5 separate regions of the Homo sapiens genome follow, and all the other regions are linked to region 4. The links are contacts of gene promoters, found by promoter capture Hi-C in human tissues and cell types (Jung and others, 2019). All regions are on one chromosome and are shown on one strand. Each heading gives the region's core, a stretch centred on a gene start or on the middle of the fragment in contact. The rest is flanking DNA. Distances are from core to core; before and after follow the strand shown. Region 1 holds the start of FBXW9 (F-box and WD repeat domain containing 9). Region 2 holds the start of TNPO2 (transportin 2). Region 3 has its middle 6.1 kb from the start of DNMT1. Region 4 holds the start of ELAVL3 (ELAV like RNA binding protein 3). Region 5 has its middle 13 kb from the start of ZNF709.

Region 1 (2,700 bases), core at 24-2,523, 1.2 Mb before region 4:
CCCACCTTGCCTCTCGAAGTGGTGGGATTACAGGCCTGAGCCACCGCACCCGGCCAACATGCTGTTTTAGTAAGTGTGATGTTAGGCCGGGCGCAGTGGCTCACGCCTGTCATCCCATCACTTCGGGAGGCTGAGGCGGGCGGATCACGAGGTCAGGAGTTTGAGACCAGCCTGGCCAACATAGTGCGACCCCGTCTCTACTGAAAAATACAAAAATTAGCCAGGAGTGGTGGCGCGTGCCTGTATTCCCAGCTACTCTAGAGGCTGAGGCAGGAGAATCGCTTGAACCCGGGAGGCGGAGGTTGCAGCCAGCCGAGATCGCGCCACTGCACACCAGCCTGGGTGACAGAGTGAGACTCCGTCTCAGAAAAAAGAAAAAGGTAGCTTTCCACCAGGCGCGATGGTTCACGCCTGTAATCCTGGTACTTTGGGAGACCAAGTTGGGGGCGGATGGCTTGAGCTCAGGAGTTCCAGACCAGCCTGGACAACGTAGTGAAACCCTGTCTTTACAAAAGAATACAAAAATTAGCCGGGTGTGGTGGTGCGCGCCTGTAGTCCCAGCTACCTGGGGGGCCGAGGTGGAGGATCACTTGAGTCCAGAAAGCGGAGGTTGCAATGAGCCAAGCACTCCGCTTGGAGGACTGAACTGCTGTCCTCCAAGGTTGGGTTGGGGAATGGGGTCTGGAGAGGTAGTTCTGAGGCCCCAGTTCCTTTCTCAAAAAAAAAAAAAAAAAAAAAAAAAGTCACTTAACTGATGCCTCTGCAGTGTAACTGCATATTTCTGGCTCTGGGAAAAGAGGCAAGAGTTCCAATCTCTACTCCTTGAACTCGGAAAGGGGCCTTTGGGTTTCTAAGCTCAGTGTCACATATAACAGATGCCTTCGTTAAAGCAGTGTTTATTTTATGTCTAATTTAAAGAGACAGGGTCTCACTATGTTGCGCAGGTTGGAGTACAGTGGCACAACCATGGCTCACTGCAGTCTCGAACTCCTGGACTCAAGGGATCCTACCCCTTCACCTTCCTGAGTATCTGGAACTACAGGCGCGCGCCACCCCGCCTGGCTTGAGTTTCGTTTTTAGCTAGAGTTGGCTGGCTCTCGGTATCGGCTAGTTTAAAAAGCGCAGAAACAGGAACCTGCATTTTCCAGCCTAAGGCCGACGCAGTTGCAAGAGACCCTGTAAGCGGGGCGATGTTCTGTATTAAGCCAGTGTCTGACTTCGTCGCTTCCGGTGGGCGCATAAACGTCATCAGACAGCGCCGGAAGTGCCCTCGTGCTGCCTAGGAGACAAGACGCGAGGCCGGCAGCGCCCACCCGGTCGCAATGGAGCTTCCCCTAGGGCGGTGCGATGATTCCCGCACCTGGGACGATGACTCGGACCCAGAGTCAGAGACAGACCCAGACGCGCAGGCCAAGGCCTACGTGGCCCGCGTTCTCAGTCCGCCAAAATCCGGGCTGGCGTTCTCGCGCCCCTCGCAGCTATCCACACCCGCCGCGTCCCCGAGCGCTTCGGAGCCTCGGGCCGCGTCCAGGGTTTCGGCCGTAAGTGAGCCGGGCCTTCTGAGCCTTCCCCCGGAGCTGCTGCTCGAGATCTGCTCCTACCTGGACGCCCGCCTCGTGCTCCACGTCCTGTCGCGGGTGTGCCACGCGCTCCGCGACCTCGTGTCTGACCATGTCACCTGGAGGCTACGCGCGCTACGCCGCGTACGCGCGCCCTACCCAGTGGTGGAAGGTGCGCGGGGCCGGGGGCCGGGGACCGGGGGCCGGGGGCGCCCGCCCAGGTCAGGCTTGGGGCGGGGAAGAGGTACATGGGGTGTTCCGGATGCAGCCTCTGGTGCAGGCTTCGTGGCTGTCCTGGCTCAGGCTGGAGGCTAAGGTAGTTACTGGTGGTGCCGAAGCCCCTGAGGACCTCTGGGTGGACCACGAGGCAGTCAGGCACTTGGGGTCCTGAGGCTGTGAAACCCTAACATGGGGCTGTGGTTCCTGGACGACTCAGGATCCAAATATCCTCAGTCTTGGGGTCTTGTGGTACTAAGCCACTGACCCCTGATTGGGGATTGACACAGGGACTTGAAGTCTTAGGCTCTGGAGTTTATGCTGGGGCTCAAAGTGAGCCCAAGGATCCTCAGGTTCTGAGTCCAGCTTAGAAGCTGAGACAGCACCTGTTGATGTCAAAACTCCTGAGCCCTAGAGCCTTGACCCAGTTAGGGGTGAGACAGTGGCTCTTGGCCCTGAGTTGATTGGTTCCTGAGGGAAGACAGCTTGGGACCTTTGAATCGATATTGTTGATCCTGATACAGCTGGATCCTCAGGCCCTTAAGCCAAGATGTATTACAGCTTGGGTGTTTGATACCCTTAACCTGGAAGCTTTGATTCTGCTTAGAGAGGAATCAGGATCACTCCGGGATCAGTGATTCTCAAGGTGTTGCCATCCAACCCCCAGGTCAGACTCTCCCAAACAGCTTAATAAACATAGATGCTTGGACCCCGTCCATATCACAGAATCTGCATCTGGGGCTTGCATTCTGCATCTTGACAAGGCTCCCTGGTTTCCAGATACTGTTTGAGAAACAGCCCCCTTGGTCTGGTTCAGATGGCTGAGGCAGGAAGGGTTAGTCATGAGGTCCCAGCTTCTATGCTGAGCCTGAGGTCAGACCTCAACATCCTGAGACTGCTCTGCCCTGAGTTTGGGTTGGGGGAT
Region 2 (2,700 bases), core at 109-2,608, 1.2 Mb before region 4:
AATTAGCTGGGTGTGGTGGCGGGTGCCTGTAGTCCCAGGTACTCGGGAGGCTGAGGCAGAATAGCTTGAATCCCGGAGGCGGAGGTTGCAATGAGCTGAGATCCCACCATTGCACTCCAGCCTGGGCGACAGGGCAAGACAGTGTCTCAAAAAAAAAAAAAAAAAAAAAAAAAAAAAAAAAAAAAGAAAGAAAGAAAGAAATAGGAAAACTGGGCCGGGCACAGTAATCCCAGCACTTTGGGAGGTCGAGGCAGGTGGATCACCTGAGGTCAGGAGTTCAAGACCAGCCTGGCCAACATGGCAAAACCCCATCTCTATTAAAAATGCAAAAAATTAGCCTGGCGTGGTGGCAGGCGCCTGTAATTCCAGCTACTCGGAAGGCTGAGGCAGGAGAATCGCTTGAATCCGGGGGCGGAGGTTGCAGTGAGCCGAGATTGAGCCATTGCACTTCAGCCGGGACAATGAGAGCAAGACACCATCTCAAAAAACAAAAAAACAAAAAAAGCCAGGCGCGGTGGCTCACGCCTGTAATCCCAACACTTTGGGAGGCCAAGGCAGGCAGATCATGAGGTCAAGAAATCAAGACCATCCTGGTCAACATTGTGAAACCCCATCTCTATTAAAAAAAATTAGCCGGGCGTGGTGGCGCATGCCTGTAATCCCAGCTACTCGGGAGGCTGAGGCAGGAGAATCGCTTGAACCCGGGAGGCGGAGGTTACAATGAGCTGAGATCGCGCCACTGCACTTCAGCCTTGTAACAGAGCGAGACTCCGTCTCAAAAACAAAACAAAACAAAACAAAGAAATAGAAAAACAAAAACAACAAAACAACAAAAACCCAAAACCTTGTCCTGATTCAACACTCAAATTCACCAGCTGGAGAGGAAGAAAAAATTCCGTGACCACACAAGGGCCAACAATGTGGACCACACATGCAGCAGGGGCTACTTTGTTCTGCCCCAAGGCTTGCGGAGGGCCGCTGAAAATTTGCCATATTATATGAAGGGGGTGAACCTTAACAAATTGTCTCCTGCATCCCAAACTCGCTCCCCATCTGATCTTTATCTGGGGCAGCCCCCAAATTTGACCAGAAAGCTCTTATCGTTCACACTCGCTCCAGGAACCCCCAAATCCAGCCCCAGCTCCCCAGTCTCACTCTTCTGCTCCCCATGCACCTCGGTTGGTCTAGAGACCCTCCTGCCAATTTGAGTCTCAGCCAAAACCCCAAAGCGCGGCGACCCTGGCGCATGGCAGGACGGGATTTGTAGTTCCAGGGCTTATCGGAGGGTGGGGGAGAGGGAGGCCTTTACGCATGCCTTGGTGGCGGCTTTCTGCACGTGTTTCTCAGCCCAGGTTTCAGTCCAGCGGAACTGGCTACCTCGGAATCCCAACTGCTCCTTTAGGGTGTCTTCCGCGATTCTCCGAGTGGAGTTAGGCGCCTGCCGACACTTCCCTAACCTTGGAGGCCCGGGACTTGATTTTCATGAATGAACGGAGCCGGGACTGACTTTGCCTACGGCAAGTGGGTTGAGATAGCTGTTCCCCTCCTTCAGGCAGGGGCAAAAATTGACCTCTGCCTCTCTCGAGGGTCAAAAAGTTCCTCAGGGCAGGGTGGGTTGTTCTTTGGGATTAGAGCTGGTGAATTCATTAAATATCGGCTTAGGGAGGGGCTGAATACAGTAAAAGAACAGCCTTGAGCCTTGGAGGGTAAAGCCACGTTTTTAAGGAACAATTCAGAGCTGGCCAGGTCATGCTTAACTTGGATGATCTCTAATCGCGCGAACTGCTCTTATACCCATTTGACAAGTGGGGAAACTGAGGCTTCAAGTGGCAGGAGGTCTCCCACTTTGTTATCGGCAGGGCAGGGAGGGGAAACCAAGACGCTACAGGGTCTCCAGCTTTTTACCATCTGCTCCTCTCTCAAGAGAAGGAAAAACGGTGCCCTACTGTCTTCAGACGTCGCAAGGATCAAGAAGATTTCTTTCTTCATGACCCTGCCCTTGCCAGAATTTCCTGCGCTGTTCCACCTCATTCAACTTCAGGTAGGGAAAGGGATTAGGCGTGGTTCAAAGTTTATTTTATTAGTTCATTTCGTTTTATTCAAAAATTTATATCCTTGTGGCTTTTTCATCTCCTTGTAAAAACTATCAAACAGTACTGGAAAATAATGCAAAAAGTGGCAGAGGCTTCTGTAGGAACCCGGCTTGTCTCAGGCACTTACTTTGTCCTGCTTTCTTTCCTTTGTCTCTGGGGTATAAAGAGCACGCTCAGCTCTTTCCTTGCGCACACACAGCGTACTCCTCCCAAGTACCTCTGGATGGGGGAAGGGAGGCACATTTCAATTTTTAGTGGAGGAAGGTGACAAGGAGGGTGCTGGCTCTGGCCGAGGGGTTCCTGGATCCATCACACACAAAGTCCCCACGCGCTACCAAACTCCTGGCTCCAGCTAAAGAGCTTGCGGTCAGGTCAGTGAAAGATGCTGGGAAAACGAGACACTGGGAGGACCGGCTGGCTAGAGAGGCCAAAGAAACGGCAACTCTTTGGTCACGTGACCGGACCTTGTCTCAGCCCGGGTTTCCCAAGTGCCAGGGCACGTGTGAAGGTTGAACCTTCCGATTGGCTCGGCGGGACCAGTTTGAACGGAGTACGGGAGCCGCGGCGGCTCACCTACGGCCGCGTTTTTCTTTTTTTTTTTTCTTTC
Region 3 (2,700 bases), core at 184-2,683, 1.3 Mb after region 4:
TCGTGCCTGTAATCCCAGTGCTTTGGGAGGCTAAGGTAGGAGGATTGCTTGAGCCCAGGAGTTTGAGGCTGTAGTGAGCTATGATCATGTCACTGTACTCCAGCCTGTGGTGACAGTGAGACCCTAGCTGGGTTGCTGTTGTTGTTGTTTAAAAAAAGGCCGGACACGTAGCTCACACCTATAATCCCAGTACTTTGGGAGGCTGAGGCGAGTGGATCACTTGAGGTCAGGTGTTTGAGACCAGCCTGGCCAACATGGTGAAACCCCATCTCTACTAAAAATACAAAAAATTAGCTGGACATGGTGGCTCGTTCCTGTAGTCCCAGCTACTTGGAAGGCTAAGGCAAGAGAATTGCTTGAACCTGGGAGATGGAGGTAGCAGTGAGCCAAGATCACACCATTGCACTCCAGCCTGGGCATCAGAGTGAGACTCTATCTCAAAAAAAAAAAAAAAAAAAAAAAAAAAGGCCTGGTGCGGTGGCTTACACCTGTGATCCCAGCACTTTGAGAGGCCGAGGTGGGTGTATCACAGGTCAGGAGTTGGCCTGGCTAACATGGTGAAGCCTTGTATTTACTAAAAATACAAAAATTAGCCGGGCATGGTGGCAAGTGCCTGTAATTCCAGCTACTTGGGAGGCTGAGGCAGGTGAACTGCTTGAATCCGGGAGGCAGAGGTTGCAGTGGGCTGAGATTGTGCCACTGCACTCCAGCCTGGGTGACAGAGTAAGACTCTGTCTCTAAATAAATAAATAAATAAATAAATAAATAAAATAAAGCTTTCTAGCCGAAGCGTTTGGAAGGGACTCTCCAGGGCAGCTGGGAGGTCAGGGAGGAGGCTTCTAGAATGAAGTCCAGGTGAGTGATGATGGCAGTTTGGGCTGGGGTAGCAGGAGCGTGGATAAGTAGAAAGACTTGGCTTATATTTTAGAGGAAGAACCAGCAGAGCTTGCTCATGTTTTGCATGTGAGGCAAGGAGAGGCATGAAAGGAGATGCCTGGATTTTTTGCCCAGACAACTTGGAAGCAAATTCCAACTTGCAGGGTACCCTTAAGGCAAATCGTTTCCATATCTGAGTTTTTTCCCCATATCTGGAAGATGGGTCAAGCTATCTCTTCCTGACAAGGTTGACAATGCTGTTACAAAGGAAATCTAGCTTAGAGGAAGTCTCCAATAAATGCAGCTGGTCTCCTTGCGTTGAAGTCCCTGAGTAGGAGGTCTGTTCATCTGTCCCCTCTTCTTATTTCCTCCCCTGGCTCTAAGGTGGGTTAGGGGCCCTGATCATGGGTTCTGACAGGTTTATGGGCCTAAGGTTCACTCTGGTGAGACTGTCTTCTGTCATTCCCTTTCTGTTCCTACCCTAGTCCAGCTTCCTTCAAGTGCTATCCCTTTGGTCTCCCATGGCCTGGACAACTGGCCATCCCTGGGGCCACTGTTTTGCCCTCAGGTTCTGGATGAAAGACAGCTGGATTCATGGTCCGTACTGCTGAGTGAGTCTATGATCTTGGGTAAGTGGCCTCTGAGAGTCCTATGTGATGAATATTTCAGGCCATGGCAAACAGGGTCCTGCTACCTACCTTTTATGGTTAAGGATTAAATTAAATAATTCCCAGGCTGGGCAACATGGGACACCCTGTCTCTACAAAAATATATAAAAAATTAGTCAAGCCTGGTGGTGTGTGCCTGTGGGTCCCAGCTACTTGGGAGGCTGAGATGGGAGGATTGCTTGAGCTTGGGAGGCTGAGGTTACAGTGAATGGTGATCGTGCCACTGCATTCCAGCCTGGGTGACAGAGTGAGACCCTGTCTCAAAATAGAAGAAGGCTGGGCACAGTAGCTCAAGCCTGTAATTATAGCACTTTGGGAGGCTGAGGCAGGAGGATCACTTGAGTTCAGGAGTTTGAGACCAGCCTGGGCAACACGGCAAAACCTTGTCTCTACAAAAATTAACCAGGCGTGCTGGCGCATGCCTGTATTCCTAGCCACTCGGGAGGCCGAGGCAAGATAATTGCTTGAGCCTGGAAGGTGGAGGTTGCAGTGAGCCGAGATTGCACACCATTCCATTCCAGCCTGAGAGACGGGAGTGAAACCCTGTCTCAAAAAACAAAACAAAACAAAACAGCCAGGCGCGGTGGCTCACGCCTGTAATCCCAGCAATTTGGGAGGCCGAGGCAGGCAGATCACGAGGTCAGGAGTTAGACGCCAGTCTGGCCAACATAGTGAAACCTCGTCTCTACTAAAAATAAACAAAAAATTAGCTGGGCTTGGTGGCGGGCACCTGTAATCCCAGCTACTCAGGAGACTGAGGCAGGAGAATTGCGTGAACCCGGGAGGCGGAGCTTGCAGTCAGCCGAGATCGCACCACTGCACTCCAACCTGGGCTACAGAGCGAGACTCAGTCTCAAAAACAAAAAACAAACAACAAAAACAAAAAGCCCCAGGCACAGTGGCTCATGCCTGTAATTGCTTGAGCTCAAGAGTTCAAGACCAGCCTGGGCAACATAGTAAGACCCTGTCTCTATTAAAAAAAAAAAATTGAAAAAGAAAAAGTTATCTAAAGAGCCTGGTAGACTACGTAAGTGCTGATTCAATATTAATCGCTGGGAATTTTAGTCTTATTATTCAGTCTTCCTGGGTCCTGCCAAGTGTGAGCAATTCATAGCAAATGGAGGGTCTGTGTGAAGGTTCACTTCTGGCCAGGATG
Region 4 (2,700 bases), core at 59-2,558:
GACCATCGCTTGGGGCCCCTAGCGCCCGCAGCCAGGTCGCCCCGGCGAGCCCAAGAGGGGCCACCCGGGGATCTGCACCGCCACCGCCCCTATTGCGCGGGCCACTGCGATTGGCCTGCCCTTTCCAGGCGTGGCAGCATCCCCTGGTGCGCGCACTCCCATTGGCTCGATCTCTAGGGCATCTTCCAGTAACTGGTTATCTCAAGGGCCGCCCCTGATTGGGCAAATTAGGCTCTCCTCGCTGGTGGCGCTCTCTGACAGTCTGGAGCCTAAAGGGCGTGCAGGAACGAGGATTGGGTGGGGACTGCCGCTCTCCAGTTAGGGGGTCTGGGCTACCTCGCCGGCAGCGCCCTCGACCGGACTGTCGGATTGCTGTCTGTGGTGCTGAAGCCTCACGCCCTGGCGACCCCGCCCCAGTGTGTGCTAGTTCCCGCGCCCCGACGTAAACATGCACCGGCGCCCGCGCACCAAAGGAGGCTGCGCCACCCCCAACGCCTTAGAGAGAGGCCAGGTTCCCCCTAGCAGAGAGCGAGCATGACTCCACAGTCAGGAGGACCAATCACGAGCCTAGAAAGCCAGGACATTTATGTGGCAGATCCACCCACCCCAGTTCTGTGGGGTCCAAGAAGGATCCGTGGTTTCCCAGAGCTGCATGGCTCCAGCGATGATTGTCCAGAACACTGAGCCCCAAACCTTTTCACCCCCTTCGGAGCAGTGCGGAGTTTCCTTGCACTGGGGAGTGCCAGTCCTTACCTTTTGAACCCTAGAAGGATCCAGCTCACTCAAAACCAACAGCGTCCCAGTCTCCTTCTGCAGAAGACTAGGGCCACAGTAGCCACCCTCCCCCGTGGTCTTGAGGTGGTCTACACTGGTGCCTCCAAATCTGGGGACCCAGGCCTCTGCCTACTAAAATATTGGTTCCTGATCCCCTGTCCAGTTCCCTCAGTGGACAACACCTCTGGAAGGTCGCATATTCAGGCCACTAATACCTCCTCGCTCTGTTGGCTCCTCCAGCTCTAGGAGCTGGACGGAGGAGGGGAGCCCGTCTCCTGGCCCGAAAGCCAGCCCAAGAAGGGGTGCCAGGGTAGGAAGCAAGGGCCTCGAGGGAAGGAGGGCCCAAATCTGGCAACCCGAGCACCTAGGATGCGCTTTTGGGGGATTCAGAGTCCCGACCAGTGCGCGCTCACTTCCACCTGCCGCGCCGTCGGGAGCCGCGAGGAGGCGGAGCTCGGTCGCCGCAGCCAATGAGCGACGCCGGCGCTGGCAGCTGCTGCTATAAAGGGCTGGGGGCGGCGGCGGCGCGGTCCAGAGCGCGGAGCGCGCAGCGCGGGCCGGAGGGAGGGAGGGAGGGTGGGCGAGGGGAGAGGACTTGAACACACGGGACCGGACAGGACCGACCGAGGGGCGGCGGCGAAAGGCAGAGCGCCGCGATCTCTGTCGGGAAGCGCAACCTCCCCGGGCCCCGCGGGGCCGCGCAGGGGGCGTCCTCAACCCCGCGCCCGCTCCCTCTTTCCATCCCCTGCCGCCCGCAGGCCACCCCGGGGCCCGGCCATCCGCGCGCGCATCCCCGGGTTCGGGCCCGTCCCTGGCCCTCGAGGGAGCCGCCGCCTTCATCGCCACATCTGCAGCGGCCGCACCAGAGGCCGCCCGGGCGGGACCCCAGCGTGAGCATCGGGCGCCCCCCTAGGAGTGCACCACCCCCGGAGCCCCCCTCAACACGGACCGCGCCCGCCGGGCACACAAGAATGGTCACTGTAGGTATTCCCCTGTCGCCGAAAGGGAATCGGGACGGGGAGGAGTTGGGCCCAGGCTCCGCGGAGATTGGGCGGGTGCGGCGGGGGGGGTAGGACCAGGCCTAGCTAGGCCCGGGTTGGGGGGGTAGGACCAAGCCTCGGGGCCTGAGAGTGGGCAGGGCCGCGCCCAGAGTGCTGAGGGCGCTTAGAGCTTGGTCTGAGAGGGCCTTAGGGAGACTGACTGCGATTCGGGAGGCGTCCGACGCCGCCCTGGAGGCGGGATTGCCCCCTCTCCAGCAGGCCTGATGGGGGAGGGGCCGCGGCGGCTAAGGATGCTTCCTCCATCCAGGCCCAGACCCCGCAGGCCGCCCAGGCAAACGCAGGGCCCGATCACTGGTGCTGGGCCAAGCCAAAGCGACAAAGCGTCCCCGAGAGCCCTGGGAAAGCGGGTGGCGTCGGATCGCGCGCCCCGGGCCTCGGCCGCACCCGGGAGGCGGGCGTCTCGTCCTCGAGCCCGTCGACCTTGCGGCAAGCGGGGAGGGGAGAGGAGGGGGCGCGCCCGGAGGCCCCGCGGGCCCGCCGCCGCTGCTGCCGCGTCCCTTTGTTTCTCGGCGCTTCTTCGCGGGCCGCAGCCTCGCGCGGGCGCCTCGGGCTGCGGGGAGGGGGAGGGGAGAGGAGGGCCCGCGGGTTGGGGGGGCACCTCTGGGCTCCCGGGTCTCCGCCCCCCGGGAGATGGGGTGGGAGGCCGAGACAGCCCCCTTAGGCCAGGTCCAGGCTCCCCACCTCGCCAAGGCTCTGGGCCGCGAGGTGACCTTGAGCGCGGCCCGCCCGCCTGCTCGCCCGCACCGCTAGCCCCGCGCTCGGTGCTTTCAGCAGCCACGGAGCTGGTCAGCTCCCGAGCGCGCAGCCCCTCCCGCCCTGCCACGCCCTGCCTGGCCACGCCCGGGCACGCCCATCTAGGCCCCGC
Region 5 (2,830 bases), core at 159-2,658, 1.0 Mb before region 4:
GAGCCACCGCGCCTGGCCTGCAATTGCTTGTTTTAATAAAGAAACACTAATAGGATGCACAAGGAATTACCAAAAGTTTTTACGAAGGGCGGGGTGGCTGGAGCAAGAATCCTGGAATGAACCAGGATATGCTTGACAGTGAGTCTTATGTTAGATTTTCCTGTCTCATAGATTTTTTTTTTTAACCTTCACATGTATTATCTCTCTAAAATGAATGGAGGCCTGGTGCAGTGGCTCACACTTGTAATCCCAGCACTTTGGGAGGCCGAGCTAGGAGGATCACTTGAACTCAAGAGTTCAAGACCAGCCCGGGCAACCCTGCCGGTTGGTGAAACCCTGCCTCTACAAAAAATACAAAAATTAGCCAGGCATGGTGGTATGTGCCTGTAGTTCCAGCTACTCAGGAGGCTGAGTTGGGAGGATCACTTGAGCAGGGGAGGCTGAGGCTGCAGTGAGCTATGATCGATCGTGCCACTGTACTCCATCCTGGGTGACAGAGCAAGACCCTGTCTAAAAATATACATTAAAAAGGCCGGGCACGGTGGCTCACGCCTGTAATCCCAGCACTTTGGGAGGCCGAGGCAGGCAGATCACCTGAGGTCAGGAGTTCGAGACCAGCCTGACCAACATGGAGAAACCCCATCTCTACTAAAAATACAAAAAGATTAGCTGGGCATGGTGGCACATGCCTGTAATCCCAGCTACTCGGGAGGCTGAGGCAGGAGAATCACTTGAACCTGGGAGGTGGAGGTTGCTGTGAGCCAAGATTGTGCCATTGCACTCCAGCCTGGGCAACAAGAGTAAAACTCCGTCTCAAAAAAAATAAAAAATAAAAAAATAAAATGAACGAAGATATTTATCTGCACTATATTTTACTATTAAAGTCTTTAAATAATGTAGTTTTTTTTAAATTTTAAGTTGTCTTCATTAAGATTTAATCCTTTATACACTTTTAAAAGTGTAAACTATACGAAATGTAAAATTTCAAATCTTAAGAGAATCTGCATCATAGCATGTCTGTCCACTGTATCTCACACTGAGGGGTATTTTCAGGAAAGAGTAGCATATTATAGATTGGGCGCGGTGGCTCACGCCTGTAATCCCAGCACTTTGGGAGGCCGAGGCGGGCGGATCGCGAGGTCAGGAGATCGAGACCATCCTGGCTAACATGGTGAAACCCCAGCTCTACTAAAAATACAAAAAAATTAGCCAGGCGTGGTGATGGGCACCTGTAGTCCCAGCTACTCGGGAGGCTGAGGCAGGAGAATGGCGTGAACCCGGGAGGTGGAGCTTGCAGTGAGCCGAGATGGCGCCACTGCACTCCAGCCTGGGCAACAGAGCAAGACTCAGTCTCAAAAAAAGAGTAGCATATTATAATACATTAGGGTTTGGATATAACCATTAAATGTAGTAGAATTTTTCAAAGATTACACAAGCTTTGAGGAGTAGTTTTCCTCGTATCAATTAAAACAGGAATCCATTTGCCCTGGGAATAGTAGAGCCTTTGAAGTTTGAAAGTTTTCTAGGGATATGCACACACACAAACTAATGTAAAAATAAAAATGCACCTGAGAAGTTAAACATATCCATCTCACACCATGAGCTTCTTTTGCCTGAAAGGAATAAAAATTCTATTTGGTTCCAGGATTTGCTTCTCTTACATCATATTTCTCAATCAACTTAAATTTTCAAAGACCAACAAACTAAAAATCCTACAGACTCATACAGGGAATAAAATTACAAAATGTTAAAGGAAACTGGAGTTAAAGTGCTGCAATATTCAATAGAAAAAGGAATCCAAAGGAAAGAAACACAAACATTGAATCAGCTCAGATAAGCAGCCTGCTTCTCCGCAATTCAGAAGAAAAACCAACATCCAGAAGGTTAAACACATACCAAAGCTTGGAGTCCACACTCTCTCCCTGTTAGGGTATAGTCCCTAGAGTGGAATAGTCCCTGGTGACAGCAGGGACACCTGAGCAGCCACAGGAATGAACTCCGGGAGCAGAGAATGCCCCTTCCCACTGGTTCTCGTAAGTGACGAAACTGTCAGCTGGATTCAGATGAAGGTTCTGACACAAATGAACTCCCAAAGTCATTAACACCATGTCCAGGAGACAGAACTTGTAACTTTCACAGACTTTTTCAATATGGAAAAATTACACCACGAGTGTACCCTAATGTGAAAGCAAAACTCAAACCTAATGTCTAAAAGTAGACCCAAGGAAACTACAATTACAACCTAGACAATTAAAACCCTCCCGGTTCTCCTAAAACCGCGTGCGGTTCCCAGCATTCCAGTGCTCTGTAGCTTCTCTCTGTATAAAGAGCTCTTTCCTTGGTGGGTGAGAGCAAGTAGGACACTTTTGGGGAAGGCTCCCCAGGAAGACCCATCTGGGCTTTCAATGACCTCCCTTTGCAGGCTCAAGAGTGGTCTTAGCTTGAAGTCACTAGTCTCTGGCTGCTGCTCCCCAGTCATGGGGCTTTCAACCGCTATTGATGTTTATTTTTTTGAGACAGGGTCTCCCTCTGTCACCCAGGCTGTAGCGCAGTGGCGAGATCATAGCTCACCGCAGCCTCGACCTCCAGGGCTTGGGCTTAAGTGAGCCTCCCACCTCAGCCCCCTGAGTAGCTGGGACTACAAGCACAGGCCATCATGCAGCTAATTTTTGTATTTTTAGTAGAGACGAGGGTTTCACCATGTTCGCCAGGCTGGTCTCGAACTCCTGACCTCAAATGATCCACCCACCTCGGCCTCCCAAAGTGCTGGGATTACAGGCGTGAGCCATCACGCCCAGTTGAAAGACGGGAACTTTCAAAGTTGCTTTTC

Evidence for each region. Contacts are between HindIII fragments. The study calls those that stand out against the background at their distance.
Region 1: the fragment with the promoter of FBXW9 here is called in contact with the fragment with the promoter of ELAVL3 in region 4 in 2 of the 25 tissues and cell types used here (IMR-90 fibroblasts and dorsolateral prefrontal cortex).
Region 2: a contact is called between the fragment with the promoter of TNPO2 here and the fragment with the promoter of ELAVL3 in region 4, in 1 of the 25 tissues and cell types used here (dorsolateral prefrontal cortex).
Region 3: a fragment that was not itself captured here is called in contact with the fragment with the promoter of ELAVL3 in region 4 in 1 of the 25 tissues and cell types used here (pancreas).
Region 5: a contact is called between a fragment that was not itself captured here and the fragment with the promoter of ELAVL3 in region 4, in 1 of the 25 tissues and cell types used here (dorsolateral prefrontal cortex).

The regions. Positions count from the first base shown.
Region 1 is chr19:12,695,204-12,697,903 of GRCh38, reverse strand. It overlaps FBXW9 (F-box and WD repeat domain containing 9), which reads left to right and starts at 1,273. Exons shown (of 10, transcript NM_032301.3): 1 at 1,273-1,731. The coding sequence starts at 1,323. RefSeq lists enhancers at 944-1,003, 1,314-1,363. The HindIII fragment of the contact is 8,232 bases long and covers 1-2,700 here.
Region 2 is chr19:12,722,590-12,725,289 of GRCh38, reverse strand. It overlaps TNPO2 (transportin 2), which reads left to right and starts at 1,358. Exons shown (of 26, transcript NM_001382241.1): 1 at 1,358-1,521; 2 at 1,925-2,041. RefSeq lists enhancers at 971-1,587, 1,588-2,206, 2,259-2,408, 2,207-2,700. The HindIII fragment of the contact is 34,827 bases long and covers 1-2,700 here.
Region 3 is chr19:10,199,679-10,202,378 of GRCh38, reverse strand. No RefSeq gene overlaps it. Among named protein-coding and RNA genes, the nearest start is that of DNMT1, 6.1 kb to the right of the region's middle. RefSeq lists an enhancer at 1,717-2,217. The HindIII fragment of the contact is 3,674 bases long and covers 1-2,700 here.
Region 4 is chr19:11,479,654-11,482,353 of GRCh38, reverse strand. It overlaps ELAVL3 (ELAV like RNA binding protein 3), which reads left to right and starts at 1,308. Exons shown (of 7, transcript NM_001420.4): 1 at 1,308-1,754. The coding sequence starts at 1,746. RefSeq lists silencers at 1-221, 2,596-2,700. The HindIII fragment of the contact is 31,814 bases long and covers 1-2,700 here.
Region 5 is chr19:12,496,356-12,499,185 of GRCh38, reverse strand. No RefSeq gene overlaps it. Among named protein-coding and RNA genes, the nearest start is that of ZNF709, 13 kb to the right of the region's middle. The HindIII fragment of the contact is 4,297 bases long and covers 1-2,830 here.